2 separate regions of the Homo sapiens genome follow, and region 2 is linked to region 1. The links are contacts of gene promoters, found by promoter capture Hi-C in blood cells and fetal thymus (Javierre and others, 2016). All regions are on one chromosome and are shown on one strand. The core of a region is centred on a gene start or on the middle of the fragment in contact, and the rest is flanking DNA. Distances in the headings are between cores, read along the strand shown.

The links. The method cuts DNA at HindIII sites, captures the fragments that hold promoters and counts their contacts. A CHiCAGO score of 5 or more calls a contact.
Region 2: a contact is called between the fragment with the promoter of CRPPA here and the fragment with the promoter of PHF14 in region 1, in 2 of 17 cell types (activated CD4 T cells and total CD8 T cells). The highest score is 6.1, in activated CD4 T cells.

Annotation. Positions count from the first base shown.
Region 1 is chr7:10,971,079-10,977,349 of GRCh38, forward strand. PHF14 (PHD finger protein 14) reads left to right here and starts at 2,794. Exons shown (of 18, transcript NM_001007157.2): 1 at 2,794-3,246; 2 at 3,757-3,867. The coding sequence starts at 3,246. RefSeq lists silencers at 1,989-2,038, 2,549-2,608, 3,589-3,638 and an enhancer at 2,564-2,858. The HindIII fragment of the contact is 4,357 bases long and covers 2,212-6,271 here.
Region 2 is chr7:16,420,288-16,426,845 of GRCh38, forward strand. It overlaps CRPPA (CDP-L-ribitol pyrophosphorylase A), which reads right to left and starts at 1,251. Exons shown (of 10, transcript NM_001101426.4): 1 at 779-1,251. The coding sequence starts at 1,035. LOC105375168 (a long non-coding RNA gene) reads left to right here and starts at 399. Exons shown (of 5, transcript XR_007060223.1): 1 at 399-695; 2 at 2,693-2,750. RefSeq lists silencers at 842-901, 922-1,061. The HindIII fragment of the contact is 1,514 bases long and covers 653-2,166 here.

The DNA.
Region 1 (6,271 bases), core at 1,544-4,043:
AAAGTCAGAAACAAGACAAAGAAGTCTTTCCCTCACCACATTTATTCAACAATGTTCTGCAGGTTCTAGGCAGAGCAATTAGGCAAGAAAAAGCAATAACAAGCATTCACAAAAGGGAGGGAAAAGTTCAAGCCCCTTCATTTAATATCATTTCCTGGAAGTTGCACGTACTGTTTCTGCTGACATGCAATTGGCCAGAACTTAACTGCATAACTCCAAGCAACATCAAGAAAGTTGGTATATTATGTCTTTATTCTTTGAAAACTTATGCCCAGTTAAAATTTGGAGCTTCCATTTTTGAAGAAAAAGGAGATAATGGGTATTGGGAAACAACCAGCAGTTCTTTCCATGTTTATTGAATGCAGGTCAAAAAAAGGAATTAGGTAATTTTTTTCTTTTCTTTTTACCCTACTTTTCTTCTTCCTTTTTCCCTCCCTCTCTTCCTTCCCTCCTTTTCTCCTTCTTTCCTTCTCTTACTTTCTTTCAATACATGAATTGCAAAAGATTAATAACCTAAATGCAATATTGTCTTCTGGATTGGATCTTGGAACAGAAAAAAGGACATTAGTAGGAAAATTAGTGAAATATAAATAAAGTGTTTAGTCAACAAAACTGTACTCATGTTAGTTTCTTAGTTTTGATAAATGTATTATGGTTATATAAGATACTGATATTAGTGGTAGCTAGGTGAAGGATGTACAAAAACTCAGTATTATTATTGCACTTTTTGGTAAATCTGAAATTACTTCAAAATTAAAAGTTAAAAAAAAATGATTGCTGATATCCAATGGCCACAGGTTTGGAAAACTAGAAAGAATTCTTATCCACTCTTGGTGGTATATATATTAGTACAGACTTTTTTTTTTTTTTTTTTGAGACGGAGTTTCACTCTTGTCACCCAGGCTGGAATGCAGTGGCGTGATCTCTGCTCACTGCAACCTCTGCCTCCCAGGTTCAAGTGATTCTCCTGCCTCAGCCTCCCAAGTAGCTGGAATTACAGGTATGTGCCACCACGCCCAGCTAATTTTTGTATTTTTAGTAGACACGGGGTTTCATCATGTTGGGCAGGCTGGTCTCGAACTCCCAACCTCAAGTGATCCACCCGCCTCAGCCTCCCAAAGTGTTGGGATTACAGGCGTGAGCCACCGCACCCGGCAGTACAGTTTTTCTAGAGCAACTAGGTGTTATTTATTAAAGTAAATGAATTAATACATTTTGATTCTGAAAATCTCCTTCTAGAAATTAGTTTTACATAAACACGAATGCCAGATTTTGAATTTCTCTTTTAGATGATTCAGCATAATTGCTCCAAATAAATCTAAAAGGCTATTGTCAAACAGTGGAATATTTGGATTTATAATTTCATAGATAAGACTATCAGTCCATGATATGGTTGGTGTTTAAAGTAGAATGGAAGTGAAATTCCCAGAGTGGAGTTTTTAAAATAACCAAGTTCCTAGGATTTTAACTGGAAGAATAAATATCTGAAAGGCAATGAGGAGTATTAAGCATGGGATGCCACTTCTGCACCTTGAGAAAATGAAGTATGGAAGGATGAGTGGTTTTCATTTGAGAGGGCTGCAGGGTAACTGTTTCTATTTCAGATGAGGAGGTAAAAAGAATGGGCATTGAAAAGGAAAAATGTTTACTAAGTAGGTTATACATTTTGGAATAGAAGTTTCTATAGCACAATAGAAAAGTTTGAGAGGTCACATGGCAATGATAGTTTGGGTGAGAGTGAGGCAGGAGAATAGGGTGTGGAGGCAGGGAACCTAAGGATGTGTCACTCCGACTTCCTAAGAACTAAATTGAAAGGAAACCCCTAACTTTCCATGCCTAAGTAACAAAAGGACCAGAGGCTACTCCCTTTGCAAACCCCCACTTTTTCTGCAGGGCAGATGGGAAATTGGCTGTGGGCAGCAAATCAGACTGATTGCAGGAGAGTCTTCCTTTGCATAGAAGTATCACTTTGTAACTTCACCATCTGCAAGAAATCAAACTGATTGCAGGGGAAATCTTCCTTTGCATAGAGGTATACCACTTTGTAACTTCACCCTAGCCTCTGATTGATTGCTTTTTGCACCAATGTTTGCACAGGAGCATGACCTTTGTAACTTCACTTCAGCCTCTGGTTGGCTGCTTTCTGCAACCAATCAGACTGATTGCGCGTTACTTCATTTACATGAGGTGAGCATTAGGTGGCCAATAGGAAGCTTCTAGAGGGTATTTGGACTCAAGATTCTGTATCCGGGCCCTTGAGCCGCTGCTCAGGTCGCTTCCGTACAGAGCGTGCTTTAATTTTCAATAAGTCCCTGCTTTTGTTGTTTTGTTGCTTCATTCTTTCTTTGCTTTGCTGGGCGTTTTGTCCAATTCTTTGTTAAAAACGCCAAGAACCTGGACAACTTGCAGTCACGATCCTCTACCGGTGACAATATCATTTAAATATTGGTAGTGGCTTAAGGTAGCAAACATCCCTTTGTGGAACGTTTACTCAGTAAATCCTTAAAAAACAGATCAGAAACAAAAACTGGCCTCCCAGGGATTTGGACTCAGGAGGTGAATTAGGCGCGGAGAGGGCGGAGCCTTTGGGGTTTATGGGCGGAATTGCACAGGGTTTGGCGGGGATCTCTGCTCCGCCTTGGCACTACTCGGCTCCGCTCGCCTCCGCGCGGCTCCCTGGGCTTTCACTCGGCTCTGTTCGGCTCCTGCTCGGGAAGGGTGCGCGGGGGCGAGTCCTGCGCATGCGCCCTCAATTCCTGCTGCTCTCAGGGCTGCGCTCAGCCTCGTGTTTTCACTTCCTTTTCAGAGCTGTATCCGGGTCGCTGCTTTCCCTATTGTCTGAGGCAGCCGCCCTCGCGCTGTGCAATTTCTGGTCTTTCGTTGCTTCTGGTCCAGGCTAATAAAGTTTTTCTTTCTTTAATTTTTTTTCTTCTAGTTTTAACGGGAGAAATTAACTCCCCGGGGCCGCCGGGTTGACTGCGCTGCCTGGGCCGGAGGTCTTCTCCGGCCAGGGAGCGCTGTGGGAAGGGGCTCGAGCGGCCAGGGCCAGGCGAGGCCGGGGGGGCGGGGGGTTAGGGGACCGCGGGGCTACTCTTGGGAGCGCCCCTGTCCGGCTGGCTGCGCGCCGGTTTTAAATAGCATCTTTCGGACTTGTCTTCGCGGCCCCAGTCCCCGACCTCGGCGCTGCCTGGGCTCCTGCAGCCTCTCCCTAAGTCTTCTCCAAACGACCACCTCACGGATTCCTTAGTAAGTGTATCCGAGGCCTCTGCGGCGAGAGGTCCATTTCAGCCATTCTAGAAGTCAGGGCCGGTGGGAGCAGGGCAGGGGTGGGAGAGTCCTGCGGGAAAGCAGGATTGGTGGACCCTCGCCCTCCATGGTCCGCGGGAATGAAGCCCGCTTGTTTTATTCCCTGATTTTTGCCGTTTTTATTGACTGTTACGATGTCTAAGTGGGGGATTACGAGGAAGGTGCAGAAACATCTCGAAAAGATGAGCAAGAGGGTCAGCTTCGATTTTAGCTGGTCTGAGTTGGCGTTGGCAGCATCAGGGCTGGAGCTGCCTTTGAAACTGCCCGTGGAGCTGTCCAGCCCTCCCCACCCTGCTTCTGCACCCCAACCTTCTCCTGACCCCTTTTGCTGAGAACTCAGTTAGACAAAAATTCCTTGTGCGAGGTCATCTTTATGTTCTCTTAGCACCACAACTCTCCCCTGTGTTTGGTGTGATTATGAATGACAATGTAATTTTTTTCTCTTCACAGTGGATCGCAGCTCCAAGAGGAGGCAGGTGAAGCCTTTGGCAGCTTCTCTGCTGGAAGCTCTTGATTATGATAGTTCAGATGACAGTGATTTTAAAGTTGGAGATGCCTCAGGTAAATATTTCCTTCTCTCTTCCCCTTTCCCAGCTTTCTGGAGTTAGGCTTATTTTTAGACTTTTTAAATCGGTTTTGATTAAAATGCCAATTTTAAGTGAAAGCACGTAAACTTCATTTATTTTGTCCATTTGATTTCCCATTTTGCCTTTAGATCCTGTCACTAGACCTATAATTGCTTCTGTTTTCCTCAGAGATAATTAGCAGTCAGGGGAAGGACTTTTTCCAAAGATGCAAAAGGATTTCTCTGTTTTACACCTTAAAATATATTTATGCTTATATTATAGAGGAAAAAACTGAAAGATATCCCGAAGTAGAAAAGTATCCTGAGAGGTGTGTGGACCATTAATAGTCCCTGAGCAGGGTTCTTCTTTTTTCAGATCACTTGACAATCTCTTAGGGGAGTTTTGCTTTTTTTGTGTATTAGCTCTTTTACTAGAATAAAATTGACCAGAGTAAGAGTTGCACTTCAAATTATAGTAGGTGCTGGACCTTGTGGATTGGGCCTTTCAGATGTCTCTGAAGTATAAGTCATGCATGCTTGCTCACTATATTTAGTAATTTTAAAAACTTTTTTTAAAGGTCGTATATTCACATTGTACTAAACTGGAAAACAGAAAAGTATGATTTTCCTTTGTATTTTCTGTTCAGTGTACCTTATGTATATATACAGTTTCAATTGAAGGAATCTGAGAAACAAAAATTATGTTTAATTTAAATGTTTTATGGGAAAAATACTGATAAACATGAACAATGAAAATTATGTGTAATTCCACCTCTTTTGAAAATTTTAATAAAGTGAGATGAAAATTTAAATAAAATGAGAAGTAAAAGCCTTTCCAGTTTCATCTCTTCAACAGTTTTTAAATATACTTCCAGAGAGTTTGCCGTGGTTAGTCACATCTCTCCTTCTTCTGGTTTTCCCTTGTCTTTTTCCTGCTAGGGATAGTAGGAAGGGATGAACGAAATTATATTACTGTTGCTACTTTTAGTAGCATCAACAGCAGAATTTGCATTGTGATTTACTGATAACTTTTTGTTTGCATAATCTCACTTAATTTTCACAGTAACTTAGTGAAGGAGATACCATTTTACAGGTAACAGGGGTATTGAGTTTAAAGAACTGGCATGAGGTCACTCAGGCAGTAACGGATCCAATGGATTTGACTTCAGAATTTAGTCTGTTTATCTGCTTGGATCCCAAGAGTTGATGGACGGAATCTTAAACAGAAACTGACTATTTGGTTACTAATTGAATTCATCCGCAGCAATCAAAAATTGATAAGTTTATCTTGATTAACTGTTTTTTTATCCTTTGCTTCTCAGCTCTTTATCTCCCATTTAGTTGGTTTGCTGATATTTGGTATTTCCAAAGAAGGGAAGGGGAAGGGAAAGGAGGTAAAATTTAAATCTTAGTTCTCTTGGTAAAGACCTTGGCAGATAAGAATATTCCTGGCTAGGATGTAGTTTTGGTTTGTTATGGTTGTGGTTGTAAACTTTGACAAACATAGTTGGGTCGTGGAAGTTACGAATTCTTTGAATATGGGAACAATTCTAAAACTTACATTAAGTATTACATTATTATGTGACAATAAATCTTGACTTTATGGACAATTTGTTTCCAAGGTTTGTTCATTGAGATGGAATATTCACAGGTATCACTTCTTTTTCAAGTGGTAAAACAATCTGATACAAACATAAAGTACTTTCTCAAAATATTTTATGATATCGAGCTAAGTAGAGATTTCTGACCTTGTTAAATCCTAATTATAGTTGAAGAGAACTGTTATTTGTGAAAAATGATAGGATGAGTTTTGTTAGGTTGATATATCTATATATCCCTTAAACACACTAAAAATATTTACTTTCTGTTCCCTCTTGTAATATAATATCTAGTATGCTGCACTCATAATTTACCTTCCTGGCCCCCTGGGGAGCTTAAATTTGTGATCTGTGGTCTCAGGTCACAAATTTGTATGTATAGTTCTTGGTATTTATTGTAAAAGGGAATTTAGAAGAAAATGATTGTATTTAAAATGATTAGTAGTCAACAGAAATTGAATCATATTTTTGACTCTTGTTTTAGGTGCATTGATGCTCTGCATAGCTGAGATATTCGCTTACTCTAGATTACCATTGTTTTCCATTTGAATCTTTTCTGTGCCTGAGATAGTATATATTTAGTTGGAGTCTTGTAGAGAATAAGACATTAGTCCTATCACTGGTTTCCAAACATGTTGAAGTTGTGGATTCCCAGCCCTACTTACGAATAGGAGATTAAATTGGAAGTAGAGAAATGGTAGCTAAACATCTGTCTGATCATATCTTCTTTCAAAACAACTTCTAGAAATGACTCATTGAATGAACTACGGACTTCCTTAGAACTTAATATTAAAGTGGTTAG
Region 2 (6,558 bases), core at 1-2,500, 5.4 Mb after region 1:
ATATTTGTAATGCCGCTGCTTCCCACCCCTGCACCCTCGCCCCAAGCTCCACCTCATTACTCAGTGCTAAAAGCAAAGTAAGTTAATATTATAACATACCCCTTCATTTCACTTCCTCAGCTCCTCACGACTGTTCCCCTAGTCCTCCTTATCCCATTCCCTGTCTCCTTCATTTCCCCAACTAGTTAACTTCAGTGCCCTTTCTAAGATAAAGGGGGTATGACCTCAAATTCAGGCTTAAAGCCCTTTCCACCATTGAAAGGTTATTAAATTCTGCTCCTCTCCCCTCCTGCAGCACCTAGTAATTAGCGCAGCCTGTCTCACAGAAGGTGCTCAGTAAATGAATGAAAAAAACGAACACACGCCCTGGAAACTTCAGTGTGCACGTACAACTCAATCCACGCATGCGCGGAGGCAGAGCCCCAGGACCGCGAGACTATCCGCACAGCTTCTCCTCAGGCCCCACAGCTAGAACCCCAAATCGCCTAGTCCCAACCCATGCACTCTCTAATCGGCGCCACACGACGGGCCTTCCCCACAACCTCATCTGCTTGGGGACGTAAAGGGCTCTGTGGGGGAGCTGCAGCTTTCGTGCCCATCTGTTAAAGGCCAGAACTTCCCATCTCTGAAATGCGGGAGGGAACAGAGCTCAAGCTTGAATAACTGAGCGCGGCCCGGCAGTCCCCCAAGTGAAGGTGCTAGCGCTAGAGCAGCGGCAGGGCGGGGAGCGGGAGGCCGGGCCCCAGGGAACCGCGGGGCGCGCCCGGCGCCGCATTACCTCTCCAGGGCCTGTAGGGTGTAGCTGATGAGCGGCCTCTCCAGGATGGGGCAGAATTGCTTCGGGGTGGGGACCCCCATCCTCTCCCCGCACCCCCCGGCAGGCAACACAGCTGCCACGGCTTGCGGGTGGCGCCCGGGCTCGGTCCCGGCCACGCTCTGCAGGGAGGCGGAAGCCGTGTGGTCCGCGCCGCGCTGACCACTCAGGCAAGGACCCGGCTCCGCCGGCCTGGCGCTGCCCGGCGGCCCGGCCTCCATGGCTGCGGGCGGAACGGCGAGCCCCGCTAGCCTCGGGCCGATGCGACCCCGCGCTGCTCCCACCCTCGGCCGGGGTCGCGGGGCGAAGGGCAGACCACGGAGAGGGACGCAGAGCGCGCAAGCAGAAGGCGCCCCCCTCAGCCGTCGGAGCCCCGCTGTTGCTGCCCCGCAGGGGACGATCCCGACAGCTACGGCAGCAGCTGAGGCTGCCGATCTGCCCTCGCGGCTCGGCTGCGGCCTCCGCACCCGGTCCCAGCGCCTGCGGGAGGGCTGACTTGCCCGCTCTGCGCTTCCCCCGGGCAGGCCCAGCTGTCGCCGCAAGTGGAAATGTCAGAACGCCCTACATATCTAAAGATCGCAGATACTCAAGGGCCATGAGTATGCAGGAGAGGTCAGGCCTCTGTCCCATCCCTCCCTGCTTTAAAATTTCGGAAGAGATTGGGATTCAAGTCACAGGATGGGACGTAGGGTGCGTATGCACCTCGATTATCTGAATTCCATTAAGCTCTGGAGGCTTCCTGGTTCCACCTGGGGTAAAGACAGATGGATTAGCAAGTGTTATTGTGGCACATCAATAATCCAAACTGTGGTGGCTCTCAAACTTGTCTGCACTTTGGAACCACCTGGGGAGCGTGTCCTGACACGCTCAGAGATTGGGATTTAATTGGTCTGGTGAGCACCGGACTTTGGAATGTTTTTAAAGATCCTCGGGTGATTCTGATGAGCAGGCATGTTTTGGAACCATAGGGTCAAAGCAATACTAATTGCTGAACAATCGATACACCTTATGTCATTTAGTCCCCAGAAGAACTCAACTATTGCCATTTCCCTTTTTACAAAGGGGAAAAGACGTTAAAATGGTTAATTTATGTAAGATTGCACAACTAATGGCAGAGGAGCCTTAAGGCCCTCATACAGAAGTAGGCCAAAGTTGAAGAATTCCAGGCCTAAAGCATATCTTACCTTATTTAGTACTCTTGTTGCTGGTGAGGTTTACCATGAAAGTATAGTGAGAATTTGGAGGAGAGCACTATTGTATTAGGTCCCTGGAATGTAAACTCCATGCAAGCAGCAACATTTTTCTTTTGGCTTGGGTTGTGTGTGTGTGCCCAGCTCCTGGAATGTAACACAAGCTTAATATGTATTGAATGAATTGCTGATTAAATAGATTAATGATCATTAAAGTGTATAATCATCAGTAATTCAGTCTTAATCCAGTGGCTTATGATTAATAAAAAATAATCTTTTTAAACACTGGAAATGTTATCTAGTTGTAGTATTACAATTTTTATTTTTACCTGTTTTCTTGAGAGCATATAAAAATATGTTTTCTGCTTTTCCTTTTTGTTTAGTCTTATTGAAGGCATTCTTTCACTTTTGTTACTTTTATTATAATTAGCATTTAGGTCCTGTGCTAGTTGGTTTCTTAACTGAAAAGTGGGTGCCATAATATACTTCCTTGTAATTTTTATTGCTATCGTTCCTTTCTAATTTGATCTCGAGGTCTCTCTCTTACGAGTGGCCATAAGCCAGAACAGCCACTCTTCAGGAGAGCCCTGGCCCAGAGAGGAAAGCTAGGTTCTGGTGTGCAGGTGAGACGCCAGAGGAGGCAGCACACAAAACATGTGAAATAACAGGCGCATTTTATTACTTACAGATTCACCAGAGAATAAGCCTGATGGAAGTCTGGAGATAACAGGACTCCCAACCAGCAGGTGGGGTGCAAGAGAGAGGACCTGTGGGGCTGTGTTAAGGTCCAAAGGCTTTATCCCTTAGGCTTTCCAGAGGGGGTTGTGGATTGACTAGTTTAAAGAAAACACCAGCAAAGGGAGAACTTGACTCTGGTGTTGACCATTGGGTTTTATCATGGTTAGCAGCTGTTGGGTTTTTGGTCATGGAATGAGGAATAAGTGTTCTATATCACAGGGAGGGGAAGTTTTAAGTAGGCCACAGGTGACGTGATACAACTGGGTTTCAAACAGCTTATATCAGGCCTAAAAATGGATGCCCAGGCAGCAACTATATTAAACAAGTTTGGCACAATACTTGACTTCATAGCGCCACTACCACACCTGTATCAAGCATTTAAATATCTGTTGACTAACTGGGTGGATAAATAAATGAGTCTATCTATGAGAGCAGGAAGGCAAATCGAATTAGTATTTCTATTAATATTGATCTTTAAACCTCCCTTTTTAATCTAAAGGTGGAGTTGTTATAAAGGTATTCTTCCTTTACTTAATCTTGAGTGAAGAAAAGTAGAGTAATAAAGCTCTTGTTATACTAATTGCTATAGAATAATTTTATATAATTAAACATTGACAAATTTTAACTAGAATCTTAGTTTTGTTCTTAGAGCAGATATATCAATTTAGATCTTCCATGAATCCTTAGATCCTTAGATCTTATATACTGTATATTAACAATGTCTAGCAGACCAACTTGTAGAGAAAAAAGGGCACATTAAAGTATTCATTCATATACGTAGTATGAAGCAACATTTTTCTCTCTGTCCTTTTTATATAAATATAATTAGTTCCATGTTTTGCATACTTTGGGGTAACAGATGTAGCTTCCTTGTTACTTAATACCAAGTTATAGCAGCCACAATATGAGAATATCTTCTCTGCATCAGGCATGTGAAAGTACATACCCTGAAAAGTGAACTCCTCTGGGACCCATTGGTAATAACAATTCTAAGATATCACTTGAAGAGTTTAGAAAAAATAAACCCCAACTGAATCATGAGGCAGAGCATGCAGAGTTGGAAGTTCCTGGAGTGGTTTCCATTTTGAGCTTCCAAGTAGGCAAAATAATGACTCCCCAAAGATGCCCATGCTCTTATCTCCAGAAGCTATGAATATGTTACCTTACACTGCTAAAGAGACATTGCAGATGTGATTAAGTGAAGGATCTCAAGATGGAGGGGAGTAGCCTGGATTATCCAGGTGGGCCCTGTGTAATCTCTGGCATCCTTATAGGAGAGAGGTCAGAGTTAGAGAAGGAGGTATGAGGATGGAAGCAGCCATCAGAGTGCAGAGGGGTGGGAATGTAGGCAACCTCTAAAAGCTGGAAAAGGCAAGGAAACAGGTTTTTCTCTTAGAGCCTGCAGAATAATATAGCCCTGCCACCCCATTTTCAGATTTCTGATATCCAGAACTGTAAGATAACATACTTGAGTTGTTTTAAGCTGCTAAATCTGTGGTAATTTATTATAGCAGCAAGAGGAAACTAATACAGGCTTCACACTGAGGAAGATTCTCATTTGGACTATAATCTGCAAATGAAGTTATACGTAGTTAGAAATGCAGTAATATGATTGAAAAAATAAGGCACTGTTCATTCAACTTTATGTCTCGTTACTAGAACCCCAGTATTGACTTTTAAAATAAATCCTTTGTCTTGTGAATTTAAAAATGTATTATAAATGTTTAAAGCATAACTTTGTTAAATGTATACCACGATTTCATAACCTGGCTTTGGCATGCCTTTAATTTTTTAAAGTAGACTAAGTGTAGTTTTAGGTTCACAGCAAAATTGAGAGAAAGGTACAAAAATTTCCAATAGCTCCCTGCCCCACACATACATAGCCTCCCACATTATTAACATCTCCCACCAGAGTGGTACATTGGTTACAACTGATGAACCTACAGTGACACATCATTATAACCCACAGTCCCTAGTTTACGTTAGAGTTCACACTTGGTGTTGTACATTCATTCTATAGGATTGATAAATTTACAGTGATGTGTATCCACCATTACAGTATCATGCAGAGTAATTTCACTGCCCTAAAATCCTCTATCCTCTGTCTATTCATGCCTTCCTCTCCTCTAATCCCTGCCCAATCCCTGGCATCCAATTATCTTTTTACTGCCTCCATGCTTTTGCCTTTTCCAGAACATCATATAGTTGGAACCATACAGTATTCTTTTCAGATTGGCTTCTTTCACTTAGTAATATGCATTTAAGTTTTCTCCATATCTTTTCATGGCTTGACAGCTTCTTTCTCTTTAACACTGATTTTTTTTTTTTTTCTGGATGTACTGTGATGTATTTATTCACTCACCTACTGAAAGACATCTTGTTTGCTTCCAAGTTTTGGCAATTATGATTAAGCTGTAATAAACATCTCTGTGTAGGGTTTTTTTTAATTTTATTTTAAGTTCTGGGGTACATGTGCAGGATGTGCAGGTTTGTTACAAAGGTAAACGTATGCCATGGTGGTTTGCTGTACCTATCAACCCTTGACCTAGGTATTAAACCCAGCATGCATTAGCTATTTTTCCTAATGTTCTCCCTCCCCACTCCCCATCTCCCTACAGGTCCCGGTGTGGTTCCCCTCCCCGTGTTCTGATTATTCAGCTCTCACTTATAAGTGAGAACATGCGGTGTTTGGTTTTCTGTTCCTCTGTGCAGGTTTTTATGTGTACAAAAATTTTCAATTCCTTTGGGTAAATACCAAGGAGAAAGATTGCTGAATTGCACGGGCAAAAGTATGGTCAGTTTTGTAAGAAACGGCCAAACGGTCCTCCAAAATAGGTATACCATTTTGCATTCCCACCAGCAATGAATGAGAGTTTCTGTTGCTTCACATCCTCACCAGCATTTGGTGTGTCAGTGTTCTGGATGTTGGCCATTCTAATAGGTGTGTAGTGGTATCTCAGTGTTGATTTAATTTGTATTTATTTGATGACATATGATGTTGAGCATTGTTCATATGCGTATTTGTCATGTGTATCATATTTGGTGAGGTGTCAGAGTCTTTGGCCCACTTTTTAGTTGGGTCATTTGTGTTTTTATTGTTCAGTTTTGAGAGTTCTTTGTTTATTTTGAAGAACAATTTTTTATCTGATATTACTTTGGCAAATATTTTCTCTGTGGCTTGTCTTCTTATTCTCAACAGTGTCTTTTGCAGAGCAGAAATTTTTAGTGATAATGAAGTCCAGCTTATCAATTGTTTTTCATGGATCATGCCTTTGGTGGTGCTTTTAAAAAATGATCACCTAGGTTTTCTGCTATGCTATCTATTAGGAGTTTTATAGTTTTGTGGGTTTTTTTAGGTCGGTGATTCATTTAGGTCAGTGAGTTTTGAGTTAATTTTGTAAAGGGTATAAGGTTTGTCTAGATTATTTGTTGTTTTTGCATGTAGATATGCAGTTGTTGCAGCAACATTTGTTGAAAAGACTGTCTTCGCTTCATTTTGTTGCCTTTGCTCCTTTGTCAAAGATCAGTTGACTGTATTTATTTGAGTCTAATTCTGGTTTCTTTATAATGTTCCATTGATTCATTTGTACATCCTTTAGTCAATACCACACTGTCCTGATTACTGTAGCTTTTTATATGTCTTGAGATCCAGTAGTGTCTGTCTTCCAACTTTGTTCTTCTTCAATATCGTGTTGGCTATTCTGGGTCTCTTGCCTCTCCATATAAACTTAAAAATCAGTTTGTCAATGTCCACAAAATAACTTGCTGGTATTTTGATTGGGATTGCATTGAATTTATAGATTAATTTTGGAAGAA